Regions from separate parts of the Homo sapiens genome. Here regions 2, 3 and 4 are each linked to region 1. Evidence: promoter capture Hi-C in 16 types of primary human blood cells and fetal thymus (Javierre and others, 2016). All regions are on one chromosome and are shown on one strand. Each heading gives the region's core, a stretch centred on a gene start or on the middle of the fragment in contact. The rest is flanking DNA. Distances are from core to core; before and after follow the strand shown.

Region 1 (2,902 bases), core at 105-2,604:
GCTTGAGTCCAGATTTAGTGACTGATCCATAAAGTGGAAACAAAGAACAAACAGTATGATTGTTCAGAAAGCAGGATGAACATTTCTCTCCAATAAGGTACCATTTTGTGAGCTCATAGTCCTTGAATACTGAAAATGATGAAAGGAAAAGGAATATTTTATATGCAAAAAGGTAGCATAAGGAGGTGTTCCGATTAGGTGTGATCGACCTAAAAGATTAATGAAACAACAAACCCATCAAAAACGACTACAATTGACAGAAAGCTAGAAACATTAACGGCGTTGGAAAGCTCAAATGACAGAAGTTCACAAATTCTTAATCATCTAATCCAGGCCTCTCCTCATTACCATTCAGACCACTCACAAAGATCCCATTAAATCAGCTCATAATCAGGTTTACAAAAATAAGACTCCTTAAGAGATGTGGCAATGTGAGAAGTGGAGCACGTACACAGGCACAGCAAATGACTACGTTAGTGAAAACTGTAGGGTTTATCATAAGCAAAATGACAGTGCTCTCCTCCGTGAAAAAGAGAAAGAAATCGGACGGGTCTCCTTTAAGTGAAAATAGAGACTGTGAGAACATAAAGACATTGCTGACATCTGTGTTTTAACATTCCATTTATTTAAGGAAAGAGGAGAAAGAAATGTTTGGAATATAAATAAACCCTTCCCTATAGGAAGGTCAGAAATGTAGAAATACGCAGAAGCTGGTGGGAGCAAAAGCCGATCCTGAGACAAGGATATCTAGAGAGGTAGCCCTGGTCGGGATGTGGGAAGAGGCCTGCGAAGAAACAGCAGAACCAAGGGAAAGAAAGGGAAGAACGTCAGGTCCACTGCTCATCCCGAGCGCCTAGAACTGCGCCAGACTCCTGGCATGCGCACAGGACACTGAAGGAAGGGATGAGCTTTTCGGCTAGCGTATTGTCTTTGAGCGACAGAGCGGGATTCCCAAACGTCCCCGCCGGTCACTCAGCTCCTGCAGTTCATGCCTAGCAAGAACCTTGCGGGCGGTCCGAGGCTGCCATCCTTTCACAGCTGTATTTGGGGGCAAAAATAGGGTAACGAAGCCGGGGGCCCAGACTTACTTTTGCAGCCGGGTGCCATAGCGCCCTCACCCCTCGATCCCGAAAACAATGCAGCCGGTGCCTCCACCTCCCGACTGCACCGCGCGCGACTGAATTCCGCCCGCTCAAGATGGCCGCAAATTTGAATTTGGCGCTTGGATCGGACGTTGACGCCCGCATGGAGGCCGCCATGTTGCCCGGCCTACGCATCGGGGGCGTGGCCCAGTGACGTCACAGCTAAGCGCCTCTGTATCGTCGCGAATCCGTCGCGGAACCTGTCTTCTGTCTTTACCCAGAGCTACCATGAGCAAGCGGAACCAGGTATCGTACGTGCGGCCAGCCGAGCCGGCGTTTCTGGCCCGCTTCAAGGAACGGGTCGGCTACAGGGAGGGACCCACCGTAGAGACTAAGGTGAGCCTTCGCCAGTCGTGTTTCTTCGGAAGCGCAGCCAGCCCGCCACTTTCAACTTTTGCCTCTACTTGGAGGGTGGGTGCTGTCGGGTCCCTCTTTTCACCCGCGCTCGAACCCAATTCCGGTGGAACTCGGACCCCCAGGCTGGTTCTTTTCAAGCGACCACAGCCCCCTACGCCCAGGAAGCTCTGTAGTTTTCAGAGCGCTGCTGTGTTCCTGAAAATGAACTGACGTGTAAACCACCTGGTCCTTGGTAGATGGTAAAGAAAGATCACTTTATTGTCTCTTCTTTCTCACTTGTTTACCTCAAAAGCTGTGAGTTCGCAGGGTGAGTTAGAGTTACAGCGTCGTCCCGTATTCCAGATAAGGACACAGGCCACTCGATCAAATGACCCCCGCCCCAACCATGTCCTAGGACTCGAGTCTGGAACGTCTTCGGAGGAATGTCCTGAATCTGTTTCTATGCTTTGTTAATTAAAAATAAATAAAAATAATATAGAGAAGGTCGGGCACAGTGGCTCACGCCTGTAATCCCAGTACTTTGGGAGGCCTAGGTGGGCGGATCACCTGAGGTCAGGAGTTCGAGACCAGCAGAGCCAATAGCCAATATGGTGAAACCCCCCGTCTCTGCTAAAAATACAAAAATTAGCCGGGCATGGTGGCACATGCCTGTAGTCCCAGCTACTCCGGAGGCTGAGACAGAATCGCTCGAACCCGGGAGGTGGACGTTGCAGTGAGTTGAGATGGCGCAGCTGCACTCCAGCCTGGACAACAGAGCGAGACTCCGTCTCAAAAAAAAAAAAAAAAAGCCGGGCCTGGTGGCTCACGCCTGTAATCCCAGCGCTCTGGGAGGCTGAGGCGGCAGATCACGAGGTCAGGAGATCGAGACCATCCTGGCTAAAACAGTGAAACCGCGTCTCTACTAAAAATACAAAAAATTAGCCAGGCATGGTGGCGGGCGCCTGTAGTCCCAGCTACTCGGGAGGCTGAGGCAGGAGAATGGCGTGAACCCAGGAGGAGGAGCTTGCAGTGAGCCGAGATCGCGCCACTGCACTCCAGACTGGGCGACAGAGCGAGACTCCGTCTCAAAAAAAAGAAAAAAAAGAAGAGTAAGCAGAAGCCGTAAATATCCTGGGTCTAAATAGAAGAAGAGGAGCTTCAGGAAAGAGCCACACCTGACTATTGTTGTCTAGGGCCGGAGGGATCAGTATTGAACACATGAATGACAAGAAAGCAAAACAGCTACATTGCTGATACAGAGAAAGTTTTAGTGGTCTGGATAGAAGAGCAAACCAGCCACAACATTCCCTTTAACCAAAGCCTAATCTAGAGCAAGGCCCTAACTCTTAAATCCTGTGAAGTCTGAGACATGTGAGAAAGCTGCAGAAGAAAAGTGTGAAGCTAACAGAGGTTGGTTCATGAGG
Region 2 (2,902 bases), core at 192-2,691, 440 kb after region 1:
CAGAGGAACTTTCCTGAAACACCAATTTCATTATATCACTCCCTAGACCCAAAACTCTAGTGATCCCTTTTTATACACAGAGAAGAAAATTCCTTTAGCCTGACATTTAGGGTCTTCCAAAATCTGGCACAACTATCTGTCCAATCTCCCTATTACTACTTTGTTTCATTACCAACTAATTGTATATTAAGAGATTGCTAGATAGCAGCCATTGGGCCAGGAATACCAAGGTAAAGAAAATAGTACCATCCTGATTGAGCTCACTTTGTATAAGGAGAAACAGATAAGAATGCTCATTACAATACAGGAGCACAGTGGAATTAAGTGGAAAAATGAAAATTTATAGATAGTACGATGAAAGTACTGAGGGGAGGCCCTCAGGTTAACGTTTTCGTCATCCTCTGAACCTATCACATAGCTCATTCTTGACCCAAAGCTTTTGCTCATGGACACCCAACATTCAAGAGTACTGACTACCATTTCCCACATTGGCGTTTGAACTTGGCATCTGTTTCACTTCCTCCATTTCTTTCAAGTTTACCTGTGTTCCTAGGTAATGTAAACTAAGTTCTGTATTTATTCAGTGATAAGAGAAAAAGCTTGCTCAGGGCATTTAAACATATTGTTTGCTGATGACTTGACAGAAGTAGGGAAAAGGGAATGATAAAAATGCTTGTCTTAGGAACTGCTGACAAACAACCCAAAGATAAGCATCTCAGATTTTTTTAAACCATCAGGAAAGTATATTCAATTTGCAGAGAACATATTTTACAGAAAACTACTTCATTAAAAAATATGCTGGAATATAAAACTCAATCAAAACAGGTGGATAACTATTTCTTATTAACAGTTAAACACCAGATGGGCAAGAGATAATTAAGATAGACTTTTAAAAAACATACCTTGGGAATTTTGAAAACCTGGTAGATTCTGCAAAACTTCAAATGTCTGTCTATAAAGGCTCTTGGCTAAGATTTCATGTGCAATTGTACAGAGTAAATTATGTCGATTAAGCACATCCAGTCTATCACAAGGCCACAGAGGCGTATTGATTATCCACTCTGACTCTTCCAAAAAGAAAAAAATATGAATAGTTTATACCATGAAAATGACACTTAACAGTATAATCACAACTAATGTTTCAATATATCTTTTGAAGAAACAGGCAAAACTTAAACATATGTACTCAGAGAAGATAACCATGGCTCAAATTTATTAGAAATAACTTATATAGTGATGATCATCATCTGAAGAAGATGCAAACAAATGGCCACTTTGTTATATTTATTTTTAATTAATTCTTCATCTAAGTGTACTAGTCAATTACTAATTTTAAATGTTTATTTTTATATAAAAAAGTTCAGATTATCACAAATATTTGCTTTAACATAAAATATTATTTATGTGGACAAGTTTAACAATTTCACAATAAATAATTTAATTAGTTTTTGGTATTACTGGGGAATAGCTTTTCTTTTCTTTTCTTTTTTTGAGATGGAGTCTCACTCTGTCACCCAGGCTGGAGTGCAGTGCAGTGGCGCAATCTTGGCTCACTGCAACCTCCGCCTCCCGGGTTCAAGTGATTCTCCTGCCTCAGCCTCCTGAGTAGCTGGGACTACAGGCGCGTGCCACCACACCTGGCTAAATTTTTTGTATGTTAAGTAGAGACGGAGTTTCGCTGTGTCAGCCAGGACAGTCTCGATCTCTTGACCTTGTGATTGGCCCACCTTGGCCTCCCAAAGTGCTGGGATTACAGGCATGAGCCACTGCGCCCGACCAGCGAATAGCTTTTCTTAACACTTTCTATTTTAAAAACAATTTCTATTATGAAATCGTTGTTGTATACAGAAGAATAATATATGTTATAAAAGCATAATAATAAAATTAACTCCTGTGTACCCATCACACCCACCTACGACCCTCAAACCAACAGACCTCAGACCCTCTTTAAAAAAAGAGAATATTACCTATAATGCTGAAGTTCCTTAATTTCTGCTCTGATTTTCACATTGAGAAAAACAATGGGAGACTGTAGTACAGAACACTGAGGTACTAAAATGTTAGAAATGTCAATATTTTATCATTTACCTAATTTACTCAATCATTATACACATAGTGAAACATTACTATATGTAACATTCAAATCATATTTTGGTGCTCTTTTTCAACTGAACTAAATGTAGAAGTAATCCTTTTATTTTGTGGCCTTCCTAGCACAGTGAATATAAAAAGTATTGAAGAAAAAGTTGATAATTCAAATATATCATGACAAAAGAAAGCTTTTAGTATCCAGTATAAAGCTTTAAAAAGGAGCTTTTCAATTACTAGAGCCCATGTGATTGACTGATTGACCTAACAGAGTTATACTATGTGTTAGGAATGTTCTAAGTGCTTTAAGAATATTAACTCATTTAGACAGATACTTTCATTAATTTGCTTCTACATTTGCTGACATTTTAATATAGAGAGAAATGTAAATGAATTTAATATCTTCAAAGACTGTATGATCATCTGTTAAACATAATTCCCATTAAAAGTAAAACTGTTCGTTCACCATTCCTTATAAAGTGAATTTTACTTTGATTGAATAAGTTCAATTATTTTTTATCTGTTAGATATATCCCATGTACAAAAAGTAGATTATATAAACCTTTTCTCATAAAAATTGCATCATTTTTCTTTAATACTTATTCTTTATATTTAAGGTAGGGTAATGGTCACATTTTTTGGAAAGTATATATGGTATTTTAGGAGATTCATTTAAAATTTTTATCAAACTGTTTAGGTATATAAAAAAATCTGACCTAGCATGCTCTCTCCCCACATCATCTCCCTGTCTGGGTTTTTGTTTTTTTCTGTGTTGCCATCTTTTTTAAAAACCTGTTCAGTGTTGCCAATCAAC
Region 3 (2,902 bases), core at 223-2,722, 420 kb after region 1:
ATCTAATGTTCTTCCTCTTTCAGGACTAGCTACACAGAAAATCAAATTACTATCAGCTGACTGAAGACACATTGCTTCAGAGTAGAGTTGGGTGCTCTCATTCAGACACTAGCTCCAAAAGTCTGGGACATCCACATCAACCGCAGGCTTCTCGTCTTCAGATAAATTCTTACATAGGTGGTTCCTGTCCATACTGCACTTAGCCCACTATACTTCCACTTGGAAAATGCTATAAAATAACTGAAGAGGTTGCACTGTCTTATCACACTTGGGAGGCATACCGAGTCTTTAACTCACCCATTCATCACCACTTATGGGCCAGGTCCTGCGTAAAGCATTGGGACTAGAAAATTATTAAGACAATTCTAATACTCAAAAGACTTTTAGAGGGAGGGGGGAGTGTAAAAACAGACACAAGCAGATAAGTATAAAACAACGCAGTAAATGCAATAATACAAACATGCACAGAATATGAGAAACTCCCAGACGCAACACTTGGAATGGGGCGGGGAGAGCTCAGGAAGGTCTTCTCTAAGGAAATGGTGCCTTTCCTGGAAGAGGGCAGAGGACCGGGAAGGATAAAATTTATTTACAAACCATTGTAAATGACTACTTTAATCTACTTAACAGTGATATTAGTTTCTGTTTCATAAAGTGAAAATTTCTAATTTTACCTAAAATCTGTTCTAAGTGAGGCATTAAATCTGTGCAGTTTCAAACCAAATTTGGTGGAAAGATACCTAAATCAGTGAAAAATCCAAATTATGGAAGAGTACACGAAAAACGGTTTTGTTTTGCTTACTTTCAACTAACACCGAGTGTGTGCCAAATAGAGCTCTCAGGATTGAGCTTTGACCATTTGGCACAACTTTTATTTGAAAGTAATTTATTTTAACAAAATTAATATCATGCCACTCTCATTTGAACTGTGACTTCCCTTAGTGACTATCTTGTACGGTTTCTGAAAGCAGTTTGTTATATCAAGGAGGGACAAAAGCGGTAATTTTCATGGCTTTTCAGTTGAATATGAACTTCTTAGAGTAGGGGAAAAAGGCAAAGAAAAAGAGCAAAAGCAGGAAATGCTATTAGATACATTAGCCTAGATTCTGTAGCTTCCTTTTCTAAATCTCGCTATATGAGATTTAGTACGTAACAATTTCCCGTAAATCAAAGACCTCGGAAAAATATAAGTCGGAAACAATAAAACCTAAATCGTCTTTGCGTTCTCATTTCACAGCGAGTTAAAATGTAGATGCGATGCGGATACTGCGTCCCCTGGCACTGCCTCAATTCAAAAGTTAGCACTTTGCGCTAAGGTGGCTCTGAGCACTCCCCTCCGACCCCGCTTCCCCCCTAGAGGAGCATGAATGCACCACCGGAGCCCCTCCCCTCTTGCTCCTTACAGTTCTGGCAAGGGTCCGACGCGAGGGCTTTGTCCGACTAGTTCCACCTCCCACCCAGTACACCAGAAGGGAGGACAGTCGCTCCGCCCGCAGGGCTGTTCGGACGCGCATGCGCACTGGGGCGTCAGCTGGCCAACCAGCGCGCGACGCACGGCCAGGCGCTCCCACCTGCCCTCGCCCCGGTGGGCGACAGGCTTTGACGGGCTCCTAGCCGCAGTGCCCTCTGAGCCCCCAACCCTGAATTCTCAGCTGGGCCCTCCCGGCTCCACCTGCCCCCAACACCCTCCCCGCTCCGGCGGCGGCAGGGCGCTCGAGGCAAGCCCGGGCAGGGGGACGAGCTGCAGGTGACGCCCTGGTTGGCTGGAGCGTGCCAGGCCTTCCCCCTACGGCGCCTGCGCACAGCCAGGGCGTGGATTCAACCTTCCGCGGTGCCCTGCCTCTAGCTGACGTCAGCACCCTGGTAACTGCTGCACCTTCGCCGCGCGCTTTGAGCCCCCGCCCCTCCGCCTTCTTACCGGCCGCCCTGAGGGGTCTCGGCGCGCTCGGCTGAGAGCTTTAGGAGGCGCGAGCGAGCACTCCGACTAGGCCGGAGGGACTCGGAAAATGATGGTCCGGCAGGTGGTGGGTCCTGACCCAAGGGCCTGCAAGGAACGGAGAAGGGCAACCGAGCACGCGCTGGATCTTGGGGAAGAAGGGGAAAGGGACTGCTGGAGGAGGCGCGCATGCGCCGTGCGGTCCTTCGCCCCGGGCGCCCTGGCAGGGGGCGAGGCTCTGCGGAACTCCCGGAGCTGGCGCCAGGGAACAAGTCTCAGTGGAGAGCCTCGAATTTTAAAAGTCTCATTTAAGTATTTCTTTTGGTTTTCCTTGTATAAATATAGCTAACTTTTAAACATTTCTTTTCCGGCTTGTGTTGTTTGCTTTGGACCCTTCAGCACCTATTTTTAAACGTTAAGCATTCCCCAGTCAGCATGAAAGTTTTACTGTTAGTTTTATTTTGTTCCTATAATTTTGATTCCCCCCAGAAACTGCCACAGATGAAATCAAGCCAATAGAATTGAAAGCAAAGATCACCTGGTGGCCATGAAGCCGACCATCCTTAGGCAGAAACTCCTTACCTGAGGAATTTAGAGGTAACTAGACTTCCCTGTTACCTAAAGCCAGCATCTGGTACCAGACTTCTTCCCTCCAAATTTAAAAGTAACTAGAATTTCTATGCATCTCCGTAATGCACGCATGTCAAAACTCATTGTGCACCCCTTGCCATCTGCTCCATGCCCCAATCAACCCCTGTCCCCTACCATCCAGATACTTTATTACCCTCACATACTTGCACAGGAGTTACATATGCCACTAGTACAAAGTCCTCAGAAAATCCCCCAAGTGTTATGCCTCTCCACAAGGTGGCAAACGGAGATTTGGGAACAATTTGAGTTCATGTCCCTTTTCCATTGTCTGAACTTTGGCAAATTCAATCCAAGTTGGGTTCATTTAGCCAGGAT
Region 4 (2,902 bases), core at 216-2,715, 400 kb after region 1:
CACGTAGAAGTTTTTGTTGTTTGTTTTTTAAATTTAGGAGATGAGGACTCACTATGTTGCCCAGGCTTGAATTCCTGGGCTCAAGTAATCCTCCTGCCTCAGCCTCCCTAGTAGCTGGGACTACAGGTGTGCCACCATGCCCTGCTGCATACAGAAGTCTTAATTAAAAAAAATACATTGGTAGAATAATATTAAAGTATTACTAAGCTTGATTTTTCTATACATTTTGAATTTAAAAACTTTATTAATGCATCCCCGAGTTAATGAATATTTTTCTGTTGATTCAATTTACTGATTACTTTGAAAAGTTCTGACTTTGAGTAGCCAACATATCACATATCATAATCAGAATATTTTCCTAGAAGCAAAAAAGCAAAATAGATTTTCCATTGCAAGTAGAAAAAAATAACGATGTTCTAATTTTCAAGATTTCAAGTTCCTTTTCATATTAAACTAGATATCAGTGTTAATGAAAATAGAAGGAACACTGAAGTAATTCCAAAGCATGTGGCTTTGTAATACATAGCAGTCCCTTGGTATCCATAGGGGATTGGTTCCAGGACCTCCCGTGGATACCGAAATCTGCGAATGCTCAAGTCTCTCATATAAAATAGTGTAGTATTTGCAAATAACCTATGTGTATCCTCCCATATACTTTAAGTCATTTCTAGATTACTTATAATATCTAATATAATGTAAGTGCTATGTAAGTAGTTGTTATCCTGTGTTGTTCAGGGAATAATGACAAGAAAGAGAAGTTTGTTCATGTGTAGTACAGATGTATTTTTTTCCCCTAATATTTTCAGTCTGAGGTTGGTTGAATCCATGGATGTAAAACCCATGGATATGAAGGACTGACTGTATTTTCTAATGTTAAAATATATTGACTGTCTTAACTACATCTACCATAAGTCATTTTTCATATCAGTTTGTATTCCTGGAGCACACATTAACTGATGTTGTAGGGGAGTGGTCCAGCAGCATGCATCATAAGGAAAAATCACTAGGGCATTGAAAACTCTTCCATGTATCATCCTTAAAAAAAAAAAAGAGAGAGAGATTGATCATGATAATAAAGGTCTCAAGTTTTCTTTCAAACCCTCAACTGTACTTCAAAAATTGGTACCAAAAACATGATTACTAGTACTCTAAAGAGTTTAAATGACAGCTTTATTGCCTGCACAAAACAATGACAGCTTTCATAAAAAAAGCTCTATTTTCAATTTTCAGTATCTACATTTCAAATTAGTTCAAAGCATTGATTATATCACCACAACAGAATAATCCACATTTATAGAACTCTATGTATTATATTGTATCAAAGGTAAATAAGCAGAAATGTACACTAATGGTTTAAAAATAAATAAATGTTTACCCTTTCTACGGGGTGCTGTCCAAAGAAATCTGGATGTACTGCAAAATAGAAAGGCCTCAAGGCATTGACTGCTTCAGCTCCCGATAAAGCTCTTGAAAAGGGAAACCAGTGTGGAAATATCTTCTCTAGACATAACCTTTTAAAAAGATGTGGACTGGTTATTCATTGAGGCACTCACACACACACAAATCCTCAATGTATAAGTGACAATAAAACTAAACGTACTATGCACAGCAGAAACAAGATAGATACTTTGTGGTTTTCTGAAATCTATTAGTTTTACAAGCAGTGAGTACCACATGGTTTCTAAAACAGTGGTTATAAATTTTTCTGGTGCAAAATGAGAAATATTAAATAACATAATAATTTCCCCTCAATACTCCACTTTGAAATTCAGCTGACTTCACTGCAAATGATAACAATTTTCTTTATAAGTTTCTTATTCAGATCAAAAAATCTTAATATCCAATAGTGTAATTCTCTTTCTATATATATCTGTCTATATCTATCTCTTTCTCTCTTTTTTTCTTTCAGACAGAGTCTTGCTTTGTTGCCCAGGCTGGAGTGCAGCGGTGTGATCTCCGGGGGTCAAGTGATCCTCCCACCTTACCCTCCCAAGTAGCTGGAACTACAGGCACGTGCCACCACACCCAACTAATTCTTTTGCTGATCTCAAACTGCTGGCCTCAAGTAATACTCCTGCCTTACCCTCTCAAAGCAATGGGATTACAGTCATGAGCCACCATGCCTGGCTCAATTTTTTCTTTATAGTAGCAAACATTTTGATAATTATTATACTTAAAAAGAGATACAGATGTCTTTTAGTTCATTCCCTCATTATTAGCATGCTAAAATTATACTAGTTGGATAACTTGATATTCTCATTCTTTTTTTTTGAGATGGAGTCTTGCTCTGTTGCCCAGGCTGGAGTGCAGTGGCATGATCTTGGCTCACTGCATGCAATCTTCTGCCTCTCAGGTTCAAGTGACTCTCCTGCCTCAGCCTCCCGAGTAGCTGGGACTACAGGCATGTGCCACTACCGCCGACTGTTTTTTTTTTTTTTTTGTATTTTTAGTAGAGACAGGGTCTCACCATGTTGGTCAGGCTGGTCTCAAACTCCTGACCTCAGGTAATCCACCCGCCTCAGCCTCCCAAAGTACTGGGATTGCAGGCATGAGCCACCATACCTGGCCGTGATATTCTCATTCTTAAGTTTTGTAACCCACCTGGGAGTGTTTTTTAAAAGTACGGTGTTTAAATCCAAATGAAATTATTTGCGGTTTTTTGAAAGCACTTCCACGACACCTATTTTTAAATGTTATAATTTACCTTTTCCATCCTAAGCTTTTTTTTTTGAGACAGAGTCTCACTCTGTTGCCCTGGCTGGAGTGCAGTGGCATGATCTTGGCTCAACCTCTGTACCCTGGGTTCAAGCAATTCTCCTGCCTCAGCCTTGCAAGTAGCTGGGATTACAGGTGCACGCCACCGTGCCCAGTTAATTTTTGCATTTTTAGTAGAGACGGTGTT

Evidence for each region. The method cuts DNA at HindIII sites, captures the fragments that hold promoters and counts their contacts. A CHiCAGO score of 5 or more calls a contact.
Region 2: a contact is called between a fragment that was not itself captured here and the fragment with the promoter of KIAA1143 in region 1, in 2 of 17 cell types (neutrophils and erythroblasts). The highest score is 5.2, in neutrophils.
Region 3: the fragment with the promoter of TCAIM here is called in contact with the fragment with the promoter of KIAA1143 in region 1 in 2 of 17 cell types (monocytes and neutrophils); the score reaches 5.7 in monocytes.
Region 4: a contact is called between a fragment that was not itself captured here and the fragment with the promoter of KIAA1143 in region 1, in 1 of 17 cell types (neutrophils). The highest score is 5.2, in neutrophils.

Annotation. Positions count from the first base shown.
Region 1 is chr3:44,760,071-44,762,972 of GRCh38, reverse strand. KIAA1143 reads left to right here and starts at 1,354. Exons shown (of 3, transcript NM_020696.4): 1 at 1,354-1,478. The coding sequence starts at 1,371. KIF15 (kinesin family member 15) reads right to left here and starts at 1,179. Exons shown (of 35, transcript NM_020242.3): 1 at 1,089-1,179. The coding sequence starts at 1,107. RefSeq lists enhancers at 1,129-1,408, 2,199-2,841. The HindIII fragment of the contact is 21,704 bases long and covers 1-2,902 here.
Region 2 is chr3:44,319,192-44,322,093 of GRCh38, reverse strand. It overlaps TOPAZ1 (testis and ovary specific TOPAZ 1), which reads right to left. Exons shown (of 20, transcript NM_001145030.2): 17 at 903-1,067. Among named protein-coding and RNA genes, the nearest start is that of TCAIM, 18 kb to the left of the region's middle. The HindIII fragment of the contact is 1,680 bases long and covers 602-2,281 here.
Region 3 is chr3:44,337,336-44,340,237 of GRCh38, reverse strand. It overlaps TCAIM (T cell activation inhibitor, mitochondrial), which reads right to left and starts at 1,472. Exons shown (of 11, transcript NM_173826.4): 1 at 1,404-1,472. It overlaps LOC105377055 (a long non-coding RNA gene), which reads left to right and starts at 2,120. Exons shown (of 4, transcript XR_940782.4): 1 at 2,120-2,533. RefSeq lists a silencer at 1,422-1,811 and enhancers at 1,952-2,121, 1,806-2,459. The HindIII fragment of the contact is 5,445 bases long and covers 1-2,902 here.
Region 4 is chr3:44,356,350-44,359,251 of GRCh38, reverse strand. TCAIM (T cell activation inhibitor, mitochondrial) reads right to left here. Exons shown (of 11, transcript NM_173826.4): 3 at 1,376-1,511. Among named protein-coding and RNA genes, the nearest start is that of TCAIM, 19 kb to the right of the region's middle. The HindIII fragment of the contact is 2,512 bases long and covers 210-2,721 here.